Regions from separate parts of the Homo sapiens genome. Here regions 2 and 3 are each linked to region 1. The links are contacts of gene promoters, found by promoter capture Hi-C in blood cells and fetal thymus (Javierre and others, 2016). All regions are on one chromosome and are shown on one strand. Each heading gives the region's core, a stretch centred on a gene start or on the middle of the fragment in contact. The rest is flanking DNA. Distances are from core to core; before and after follow the strand shown. Region 1 holds the start of NEK1 (NIMA related kinase 1). Region 2 overlaps PALLD (palladin, cytoskeletal associated protein). Region 3 overlaps CBR4 (carbonyl reductase 4).

Region 1 (4,011 bases), core at 444-2,943:
CAATAAATACCATCTTGAATAGTGGGAGGGGATCCATTTATCTTCTCAGGAAAAAAGTTCTTTATCTTCCTTTATTCGAAAAAGCAGAAAGCAAAAATGGAATTTCTATTAGACTTTTTTCAAAATATTTTTTCTTCTCTGTAAGTCTATTCAGACAATATTCAACAGATTTTGTAGTAGAAACTACCAACAGGTAAATAAAGAATGTACATTCGTGAAAAGGTGTCATGTTCATGACTTAGACTAGAAGGCAGGAGATTAGACAGGGCAAAATTTACTTGGAATACAATGTCAATGTACTATTCACACGACCTCAAAAGAACTTCTGTGGTCAAGTCCGACGACCTTTATTAAATTCCTGACAGTGACTTTTAACGTGAAAAAAACCTGTTTTCCCACAAAATAGGCTCCTTACATTTCACCTAGAACAATGGATATTTTAAGTGAAACAGATCTGTAGAACCTCTAAAACCAGACAAATGTAAACTAGAAACAAGGAGTTACTTCTCTCCAAATTTGGCTCCCCTCCATCAGCTCTACAATACTGCTGCATCATAAAAAAAGGTCATTAACTTAGATTGGATGCCACTTTTAATCCTTCATAAACATTTCTAATGAAACATACCAAGGCAATAAAAAATATTTCTGCTTCCTAAAGCAGATCTTAAAGAACAAAAAATAGGCCTGCAAAAAAAGTTATGATAAACTCTTAAAGTAGTACAACAATTAATGCCTTACATATGGAAACTGTGTCAAATCATGGAAACAGAAATCTAAGATTACAGGGTAACCAGCTAACTACTACTCATATTCGCTTCCTAATTAAAATTTATCAGTAATTTAAGATTGGACACAACATAAGCAATGCAAATGCTTGCTTATCCATACTAAGATTCCTATTATTTTAATCCCATTACCGCTCTAGTTTTTAAAAATACCGTAATGTCCAAGAATCGCTTTGTTAATACAGAGTGTCTTAGAGAATTAACATTTAAATGAGATTAAGGTATTTTCCCTGCAAACACTTAAGGTATCTGTGTAATCTCAATATAAGCAGTTCTACGCACATCTCATTTCCAGGATGATTTTTACCATTTTGCATGTCATTCCTTCCCCCAAGTGGAACTCACCTCAGTGACACAGGACGTTAGTAGGAATAACGGTGATGACTAATAAGCATCAGTCTAGGTGTGGCAGTCTTCCTACGGGGCTTAATAAAGCAGAGGTACCATCCCGCATTTTGAAAATGACATCCTGAAAGAGAAACCAAGACTGTCTAACCAGCAGCAGCTCACAGTCCAGACTGAAAGGGGGCACTGAGACTCTCCACACCTGACACTCGTCTTCAGTTGATACCACGGGTTTGACTCCGTCCTGTCTCGGGCGACGCCCGTAAGACAGGTCGACACTACCCCGACGAAACAAACAAACTGGTTTCTGAGCCCCGTAGAAACGGCGGGGTGCAGCAGGGGGAGTGCCTCCGTTACCGCCTCTCCAACTTCACAGAGGTCGTTGCTAGTGGCCACGGCGGGGTGGGGACGGGCGGCGTTCGGGACTGGGAAGCTACTTGACTGCCACGTGCTCCTGCCTCGCAACAGCGGCTCTAGATTCCGAGTTATGGGGACAACTGCTCGAGAGGCCAGGGTAGGGTAAGGACTCCGCAACCTAGGGTCCCAAAACCCTGGAGCGAATGCGGACTAAGGGAGAGCGGCCGGCGCGTCACCGGCGCTGGCGTGTGACGTCAGCGCGTGGAAGGCGGCACGCAGCGGAGGCGGCTGGGAAGGAGCAGTGAGGCTGGGCTAGAACCGTAGGGTCGGGCGGGGTGCTGTGCGAAGGGGCGGGCGGGGTGCTGTGCGAAGGGACGGGAGGGGCGGGCTCTGCAGGCGGGAAGACAGAAAGGACGAGACGGGAGAGATGAAAAGGATGGAGAGAGTGTAAAGCTGTTAAGAGTCATGCAGAGATGCGGGAGAGAACTCACTAGTTGAAACCAATTTGGAATATAAAGCATATAAAATTTTCCCACAGCTACTACACCGAGAAAGGGACTTTTTTATTTTACATGAAAGCGCACTACTTAGGGATGCCACATTTTAAAGAGCAATTTTGCTTTAAAAAGCAAGTCTTTTCCTATTATATCTTGGATGGTTGAAACAGAAGAATGTTTAAGTCTTGAGATATTTTTAAAAAGCTGTATGGGGTTTTCTACACCTTTACATCTAATGTATGTATAAATTACTTGTCTGTATGTTGAAGGGTTTGGAAATGTACAGCAGTCTAAGTACATTTTTTCACTGCAGGACTGGCGAAGGTAGGAAGAGATTCCCCTAAAACTATAATAAGGGATATCATCTGGCGTCATCCTGAGTGGCCCTACTCAGGGCAACTTTATTCCTAGGGACATTGAAAGATTTTGGCGGCTTTGCCAGACGATGGCGCTGCAAGTCACCCAACCTGAAAAGCTGGAGAGTTTGTTTTATCTCCTCTTCAATCGCCATACAGCTACAAAAGACTTATTTTCCTCATTCTTTCTACTTCTAGTCTACACTCCTGTGGGCCCTCCTACCCCCAGTTAGTAGGAATTATCATGTCTGAATGCACAATTGTAGTTCTACCCACATCCTTTTGTACATCAAAGTGAAGTGAAATGTTGCCAATTACTAATCTAAGCAAATTCTTTTTGCTGCTTACAGGAAGAATGGCTAGTCAGCTAACCTCCTTAGATAATTCTTTAGGCTCATGTCATAAACTATTGGTAGGACTACAAACTGCTACAGTCTTTCTAGAAGGTATGCTAGCAGTATGCATATCCTTTGACTCAGCAATTTAACTTCTGGAACAAGTGAGCAATGATTTATATACAAGGATAACCGTTATTGTTTATAACCAGAAAAACTAGAAATACTGTAAATGTATAACAATAAAGAATTGATTAAATTATAATATATCCAAACAATGAAATACTCTAAAGCCATTTAAAAGAGTAATCAAGATCTACTTTATTGACATACAAAGATACCATTGATATATTGATGAGTAAATAAAGCAGGTTACCTAAGAAGATTACCTGATTTCCCTTTCTGGTTTATATACCCCTGTACAATTGATTTTTTTTTTTATTTTTAAACAAGAGTGCTTTGGGGTTTCTTTTTCTTTAAATATTTTATTGGACTTTTCTTTCAAACAAAAAAGTTTTTGCTTCTTGCAACAAGCCAGTAACACAAGTACACAAAGATAAAGCCTATCGTCTCCTTCCCAGAGCTCTTCTGTGCTGTCCTCCACGAAACCAATGTTAACAGTTAATTAATATCATCTACATTTTTCTCTAAGTTCCTAAAAACATAAGCATGCATTTTTATATTTTATATATTAGTCTTAGTCTTTTATTTACTTATTTATTTTGGAGACAGGGTCTCATTCTGTTTCCCAAGCTGGAGTGCAGTGGCGCGATCTTAGCTCCCTGCAACCTCCGCCTTCCAGGCTCAAGTGATTCTCCCACTTCAGCCTCCCGAGCAGCTGGGACCATGGGTGCGTGCCATCACACCTGGCTAATTTCGGTATTTTTTTTGTAGAGATAGGGTTTTTGCCATGTTGCCCAGGCTTCTTGTGTGTGTGTTTTGTAGAGATGGGTTCTACCATGTTGCTCAGGCTGGTTTTGAACTCCTGAGCTCAAGTAATTCTGCCTGCTTTGGCCTCCCAAAGTGCTGGGATTACAGGCGTGAGCCACTGTGCCTAGCCGGGACTATAGTATACATATTATTTTGCAACGTACATTTTTAAATTTAATAGTATATGAACATCTATGCGGATATCAACTAATTCTTGTGAATGATATTGATATTTCATGATATGGCTATACCAAAATCTACTCCATTCAGTAGACATATTGTTTCCAATGGTATAATTACTTCTGTGGGATAGATTTCGAAAAGTAGGTTTGCTGGGTCAAAATGTATGCATATTTTTTCACTTTAACACTCCTATGTCTTGGTTATGAAAATTTCTTAACTCCTT
Region 2 (4,011 bases), core at 959-3,458, 690 kb before region 1:
CAGTAGATGGCTTATCTAGGATCTAACCTGGTAAAGTAGGAACAAGCAGTGCCGCTTTGTTTCTAGATGTGGGAACAACAAGGAGCCTGACCAAAGATGTCCACTCCCTCTTCCTCCACACCACTTCTGATGACCTCCAAACAGGTCAGGCAGTGTACATGGAGAGCTGGGGACAGCAAGTGGATAGATAGGAGAACACAGAGCCTGAGTGTCTCAGAAGCCAAGCTGCCTAACTACTGCTGTTTGTTTCCAAAACCTCTTCATCCTTTTAACCAGTCATTTAAGTTTACTTTAAATGCTGTAGCCCTTTGCTACATGTGTGGTGGGAGGCATCTTGCAGGTAATATCAGTTGAGTATCACGTAGCAGGAATGGAATTTGTGAGTCCTCTGGCTGATGCTGGCAAAGCTAGTTCTTCAAAAGAACTGTTTTACAGTCTAAGTGACATCTTTTTGTATATAACTTCGTACTAGTAAAGTTGGGGGTAGGGGGTAAAAAGGCCTTCCTTAACAGTGCATTTCTTCCATTCAAAATCAAGGGCAAAACTAAAAAGCTGGCAGATGGCGACCATCCTGACCCTTTGCGGCACAACATGTTATTAGCAATTAAATGCTTTTATCTGATCTCTGGTCCACACAACTGTCAAGGTCTCAAGATTTTATGATGTTTCCATTGTGATGGTAATTTGTTGAGATGGCTTTCTGGGTAATTTCGTATTGCTCTTGTTATTCAGTTTCAAGGATTATAAAATAATAATAGCAGCCCTGTGTGCTGACGAATGCATTCTCCATAACTATGGCTGCTCCTTGATGAGAAGCTTTACAGTACTATATATAAATGCCAGCTGAGTATTTGTTATTATTGTTGGACATCTTTTTTCAAAGAAGCCCAGAGCCTGGTGCTGATATCATCCCATTAATCTCCATAGCCCTGGGCAAGGTAAGACCATGACAGCAATTTTTTAAATCCCATCTCGGTCTTCTCTAGGTTGCTCTGTAAGAATTGTTTAGATGTAAGCTGGTGAGTGCTCAGGAAGCCAAAGTTTAAAGCAAAAGTTTTAAGCAAAAGAGTAACATGAGCTGATACTAAAAGCCATCTCTTGGCCCGGTGCAATGGCTCATGCTTGTAATCCCAGCACTTTGGGAGGCTGAGGCAGGCGGATCACCTGAGGTCAGGAGTTCAAGACCAGCCCGGCCAACATAGTGAAACCCTATCTCTACTGAAAATACTAAAAATTAGGCTGGCATAGTGGCAGGCATCTGTAATCCCAGCTACTCAGGAGGCTGAGACAGGAGAATCGCTTGAACCCGGGAGGCAGAGGTTGCAGTGAGCTGAGATTGTGCCACTGCACTCCAGCCTGGGCAATAAGAGTGAAACTCTGTCCAAAAAAAAAAAAAAAAAAAAGCCACCTCTTGTACTACTGAAGGAGGAATTTATGCAGACTTCTTAGCTACCAGTGATTTCACTCTGTTTTAATACAAAAATTTACATGTATTTCTTTTATGATTTAGGTCAGTGGGTTACCAACCCCAGATCTAAGCTGGCAACTAGATGGAAAGCCCGTACGCCCTGACAGTGCTCACAAGATGCTGGTGCGTGAGAACGGGGTGCACTCTCTGATCATAGAGCCAGTCACGTCACGTGATGCCGGCATCTACACATGTATAGCTACCAACCGAGCAGGACAGAACTCATTCAGCCTGGAGCTTGTGGTTGCTGGTAGGCTCATCTGTGAATCCTTGCTCTCTGACAGAATGAACATCAGACTTACAAATGTAAACTAATTCTACATTACTAACCAATACGGAAAATAAAGTATTGAAAAAATAGATTGTATCATCAAAATAGCCAATGAGGACATGGTTATAAGGCCTAGCAAAACAGAAACAGAAATCTTTCATTTCTCCCACTAACCTGGCAAAGAGAGAAAAAGATTTTATTAGCTCTTTTGGGTCATTCGACCTCCTGTGTGTATAGTGGCCCCTAGTGTTACATAGAGAAATAGTAACAGCAGCATGGACTCCAAGAACCAAAGAATTTGCTTATATATAAAGTTTTATATTTATATATATATATATATACACACACACACACACACACACACACACACACACACACACACCTGGTTTTTAAAACAACACTGTCATCTACCCTCATAGTCATTGTCAAACTACACTCAGATTTGCTTTTTCACTGATTATTGTGTAGGTAAATTCTGTAAAAGTGCTGTTACATGAAGTCTTATGCTTTGAGAAGCCTAAAAGGAAAACACATTTATGGAAAGGTTTTTATACCATCCTTAAGAGTTAGGTGTTGAGTACCTGATCTCTTTTAAGAAAGAACATAACAAAACATTTATTTCTTCTACCTCTTTATGCAAAGTGCTTCATGTACATTATGTATCAGTTGGCCCTCACATGAGCCTTATGAGATAATCAGAGCAAATCTTCTCTGAATTTTCCAGGGTCCCACTTAGTAAGCTGATGATTAGATTTAACACAAGACTCCTAGTGCTCTTCTAAACACACTACGTCACTGAGCTCTTTCAAGAAATAGAGTAGCAATGAGAATAAAACCCAAGAAGTCTTGACAAAACTCTTGGATTATGATTCTGATAATGGTACCAAGATGTTTTCACATAAAAATGTGGTAAATATGTGGACTGTGGTGCTACAGGTTAGCCATGCTTTCAAGTTTTGTACAAAGTACTCTATATTCTTACATGCTACAATTGATTTCATTCCTCTAACCTCAAACTAAAACTTCACTTTTCTGCTGTTAAATATGCCTTTTGATCACATAGATACCTCAGTGCGCATCAGCTGGCACTCCTGTCAGAAGACGGTGATGCACAGTAATTGGAAGCAAAGTCTTTGGGGTCAGATCTGCTCCAGTCCCGGCTCTTGTCGATTTTACTAGTGTGACATTTGGCAAATAGCTATCTCTGCGACTTAGTTTCTCCATATATAAAATGGGAATATAATGCCTCACAGTGCTTTCCTAAGGATTAAATCATAAAAATGTGTATGAAGCTCTGCATAACTAGTACCCTGCACAGCAATGCTGCAAAGTGGTAGATGTTATTCTTACTGATGAGTTGCTATGACATTAAGACTTGTTTTATACATTTTATGTTCTTTGCAAAACTGGAGCCCCAGAAAGAATACAAAGTGAGCTTCTGTTCCCACTTCTCCCAGAATAGCCTAGGATGGGCAACCATGTAAAATTCAATAAAAATCCAACCTTCTAACTAACTCGTGGTGTTGGAGAGTATTAAGCATTTGAAAAGTTCAGGTAGAATTTTCATCCTTTTTGAGCTCTTTCCTAGCTGCTTTGCTGTGATATATCTGTCACTCCAGATGAGGGAGTAGTGGTGGAAAAGGAATGCATTCTCAGATTCATTGTTGGTAGTTCAAAAGAAAATAAGTAAACCTTATTCATTCTCTGAAGTACTTTCCACCACTACTACAACTGATCCAAGAAAACAATTTCCCATTGGATGGTATTATTCAGAGTGTTATTAACAATCAGTCCTGAATTTTTCAGAATAGTACTAAAGTTGTCTTTTTTTTTTAATGGGTTCCTTCCTTCAAGGTTATAATAAAGCTTTTTTATAACCTTCAAAGAATACAAAGTGGAATTTGTAATTTATAGGATATACATTCCTAGTTTACAGGTAACTATTTAAAGCTGCCAAATTTAGATAAAGATGCCTCCCCTTTAAATTGCCCCCTTTAAATTCTATGGCATGTCTCACTTAAGAGTTACAAATATTCAGAATATTCATGGCAAACATGGCAAACGGCAGTGAGGGAATCTAAGTGGTCAAATTCCTAGAAATACTTGTCCTCAGCACCACTAGGTGGCAGTAGTTGGTTGAGGCTGTGAATGATCGGTAACATAATCACTAGTAGTGAAGCCATCACAGATGCTAGCAATGACTTAGGAGTCTCCCACAGCTGGTCAGACAGGCATTCTGTGAAGCAGATGGCCAGTGGACAGTGTGAGCCTA
Region 3 (4,011 bases), core at 1,041-3,540, 620 kb before region 1:
TCTTTTCAAACTCTAGCAAAATTAGCATAGAATACTTCCCAGTAACTCTCACAAACTGTCAGCATAAAAATCGATGCATTTTAACCCAAAAAACAAAAACAGAAAAACACAATAAACTACAGTAGAAATGGTTTGCAAGAAAGACCTTGTGACTATGCAAATCCCAGGCTCAACTTCTGACTCTGCTGGCCTGGCCTTTTCTCAAAGGCAGTATTTTGTGGTTAAAAAAAACCACTGGATTAGGACACATTAAACTAGATTCTGTTCCCTGCTCTGCTGATACTATTAAAGCTATCACCCGAGAAAAGTCACGTGCTAAGACCAGCTCGGTCACGGAGACCTTAACACAGCAGCACTAGAGGAATTAAAGACACACACAGAAATATAGTGTGGAGTGGGAAATCAGGGGTCTCACGGCCTTCAGAGCTGAGAGCCTCAAACAGACATTCACCCACATATTTACTGACAGCAAGCCAGTGATAAGCATTCTTTCTATAGATGATAGATTAACTAAAAGTATTCCTTACGGGAAACAAAGGGATGGGCCGAAATAAAGGGATGGGTCTGGCTAGTTATCAGCAGCAGGAGCAAGCCCTTAAGGCACAGATCGCTCATGCTATTGTCTGTGGTTCAGGAACGCCTTTAAGCGGTTTTCCACCCTGGGTGGGCCAGGTGTTCCTTGCCCTCATTCCGGTAAACCCACAAACTTCAGCATGGGTGTCATGGCCATCACAAACAGGTCACGGTGCTGCAGGGATTTTGTTTATGGCCAGTTTGGGGGCCAGTTTATGGCCAGATTTGGGGGCCTGATCCCAACAGTCATGTACTATCTGCAACTGAATGACCATTTCTGTATCATAAAATGAATGTAATAGGTGGAAAATGACAGATCTCTGAGGTTTCTTTTCTGTTTTTTCTTTTTTGCTTTTTTTCTTTTGAGACAGTCTGGCTCTGTCACCCAAGCTGGAGTGCAGTGGCACAATCACGGCTCACTGCAACCTCTGCCTCCCAGGTTCAAGCAATTATCCTGCCTCAGCCTCCCCAGCAGCTGGGACAACAGGCGCCTACCACCACGCCTGGCTAATTTTTTTTTTTTTTTTTTTTTTTTTTGAGACGGAGTTTGGCTCCTGTCACCCAGGCTGGAGTACAATGGCATGATCTCAGCTCACTGAAACCTCCGCCTCCCGGGTTCAAACAATTCTTCTGCCTTAGCCTCCCGAGTAGTTAGGATTACACGCATGCATCACCACACCAGGCTAATTTTGTATTTTTAGTGGAGACAGGGTTTCACCAGGTTGGTTGGGCTGGTCTCAAATTACTGGCCTTAGGTGATCAGCCTGCCTTGGTCTCCCAAAGTACTGGGATTACAGGCGTGAGCCACCATGCAGCCTGGCCTGAGGTTTCTTTTAGCCCTACAACACTACGATTCAAAGATTAAAAGTATGCCTCATTAAGTACTCTTCATGACAACTTGACTTGAACTTTAGGAATGTAAGTTCCCTTAAAAGGGCCCTCAGTTCTTACATTGGTAGGTACATAGAGGTTAGAATACTTCCAATTCAAGAAGCACTAACGCTAACCTGGGTTTTCATCCATGCTGTGTTGAAAGGAACTGATCAGCCCTTCTTCTGGGTGGATGTTAGTTCTGATATGTTTGTCCTTTCGGAGACAAAAAGTAAGGCCACAAAAGTTGTGAGTGACCATTTGAACAGGTTTTTTCACCTCGGGGAAAAAAGCAGATCTAGAATAAGGCATGAGATACTGGAAGGTCTCCAAGCCTTAGACAGGCAAGGAGACCTAAGCAGTGAGACACTTTCAGGGACAATCCCAGTGAGATGGAAAGATGACCTCTACCACACAGACATGGGCTGACATCCTTCTTTCTGCTTGTATTACTTTCTAGTCTGTGCTCTCTCTCCTTGGCCCCAAAGGACTCTCCCCCATATCATCCTTTCATTTCATTTGTAAAACTCTGGAAATTTTGCTCTACTCCCCTTTTTGCTAGGTATACATTTACAATGCCTTTCACACTAGGCTATAAACATTACAAACTACCAGTAGGTGCCACTGTCCAACAAATAATGCTACTGCATCTCCTGGAGAGTTAGACGTTTCCAGTTTGGAGGACAGACATGTGATCCCCCAAAAACAACCAAGTAAGCTAGATATGGAACAGATAAAGGCTAACATCTTGAAGCTTTTAATAAGGTCTTGTTAAATGTTATAGCCTGGATTCATCTCTGCTATAGTCTATGTCTATGTTAGGTCAGATCTGTACAAGAGAGAGTGGTGCCCTCTGAATCCAACATGATTACAAGAAGTCCAGAACAGGAATGATGATGTTCAGCCACCCACCTCGAATGAAAAGTCTCCCTCCACTGCTCAAGCTTAGAAGATAAGGGTGTGATTTATTTAGGGAAAGCTTGCCACAATCTCTCCCCAGACCTATGAATGGATACTTGGAATAACAAATATCAGGGGACAGCTGCTAGCCATCACTGAACTCTGCACTAAAAGTAAAGTGGGTGAGAGAGGCCAAGTTGAAAGGAAGGGATGAATTCACCAATGCTGGTTTTTCCTCTTTGATTATGTTATTTTCTATGGAGGACATGAACATGTCCAAAGAGCCTCTCTTCATTTTCTGTAGCTTTTTAAAAAATTTATAAACTTTACATTTTTGAGGAATTTTAGGTTTACAGAAAAATTGAACACAACGTTCAGATAGATCCCATGCACCCCCTTTTCACATCACCCCCCCCTTTCCATTTCCCATTACTAACATCTTACCTTAGTGTGGCACATTTATTACAACTGATAAACCAATATTGATACATTATTAAGTAAAGTCCATAGTTTACATTAGGGTTCACTCTTTATTTTATATATTTATGTATTCATTTATTAATACCATTTTGTCTTCACAAGCTAAGGGTTCACTCTTTAGACTGTACAGTTCTACAGGTTTGGACAAATGCATAATATCATGTGTCCACCATTACAGTAGCAGACAGAATAGTTTTACTGCCCTAATAATCTGTCTGTAGCTTTTTAAAACTCATGTATCTGTCCCCACTTTATCAGAAATTAAATAAAATTTATCAGAAATTAAATTAAAAATGTAAAGCTAGTCTCTAATGATAAATTACTCTGGGCTGTATGGAACTTCCATGTCATTTTATATTAAAGGTTATGAACCACGTGATCTTCATTTATAAATATATTCACAACCCAGGACATGACATATAAATGGTCTCTTAGGTTCCATATCATGTATCACAGACCTGAAGAGAGAGATTAATAGTCCTTAAACAACTCACACACCCTTCTTACTACTTGTATTACTTTCCGGTCTGTGCTCTCTCTCCTTGGCCCCAAAGGACTCTCCCCCATATCATTCTTTCACTTCATTTATAAAATTCTGGAAATTGTGCTCTACTCCCCTTTTTGCTAGGTATATATTAACAATGCCTTTCAAACTAGGCTATAAAATTTACAGACTACCAGTAGATGCCACTGTCCAACAAATGATGCTACTGCATCACCTGGACAGTCAGAGGTTTCCAATTGGCTACAAAGTTATCACTTCTTAACTCGACGAAAAGATAACTGAAATGACAAGCATTAAACCAATTTAGAGCAAAGATACTTCTAGTTTAGTTCCATATATGTGATTAAAAACCCAGTTCAATTTTTATAGGAACTCTTTAGGAACAGGGACACTCTTGCTCAAAAAGGTAAATGCATGGCTCCTGCCCAATGAGGATTTATATTTGATAAACTCTAAAGATATAGGCCAGGTGTGGTGGCTTATGCCTGTAATCCCAGCTACTACTGAGGCAGGAGGATCGCTTGAACCCAGAAGGTCTAGGCTGCAGTGAGCCAAGACTGCACCACTATACTCCAACCTAGGCAACAGAATGAAACCCCATCTCAAAAAAATTTTTAAACAATTTTTTTAAAAAGATTATATCCTTTATCGATTTCTGACTAGCTATAAACTATAAATAGAAA

The links. The method cuts DNA at HindIII sites, captures the fragments that hold promoters and counts their contacts. A CHiCAGO score of 5 or more calls a contact.
Region 2: a fragment that was not itself captured here is called in contact with the fragment with the promoter of NEK1 in region 1 in 2 of 17 cell types (naive B cells and naive CD8 T cells); the score reaches 7.4 in naive B cells.
Region 3: a fragment that was not itself captured here is called in contact with the fragment with the promoter of NEK1 in region 1 in 3 of 17 cell types (total CD4 T cells, total CD8 T cells and total B cells); the score reaches 8.7 in total CD4 T cells.

Annotation. Positions count from the first base shown.
Region 1 is chr4:169,610,890-169,614,900 of GRCh38, forward strand. NEK1 (NIMA related kinase 1) reads right to left here and starts at 1,694. Exons shown (of 36, transcript NM_001199397.3): 1 at 1,333-1,694; 2 at 1,131-1,254. RefSeq lists enhancers at 1,167-1,286, 1,707-1,766. The HindIII fragment of the contact is 11,256 bases long and covers 1-4,011 here.
Region 2 is chr4:168,920,024-168,924,034 of GRCh38, forward strand. PALLD (palladin, cytoskeletal associated protein) reads left to right here. Exons shown (of 22, transcript NM_001166108.2): 18 at 1,511-1,718. It also overlaps a transcript of CBR4 not described here. Among named protein-coding and RNA genes, the nearest start is that of CBR4, 88 kb to the right of the region's middle. The HindIII fragment of the contact is 2,789 bases long and covers 815-3,603 here.
Region 3 is chr4:168,993,662-168,997,672 of GRCh38, forward strand. The region is part of intron 4 of CBR4 (carbonyl reductase 4); the gene reads right to left. Among named protein-coding and RNA genes, the nearest start is that of CBR4, 15 kb to the right of the region's middle. RefSeq lists enhancers at 650-1,456, 1,457-2,262. The HindIII fragment of the contact is 190 bases long and covers 2,196-2,385 here.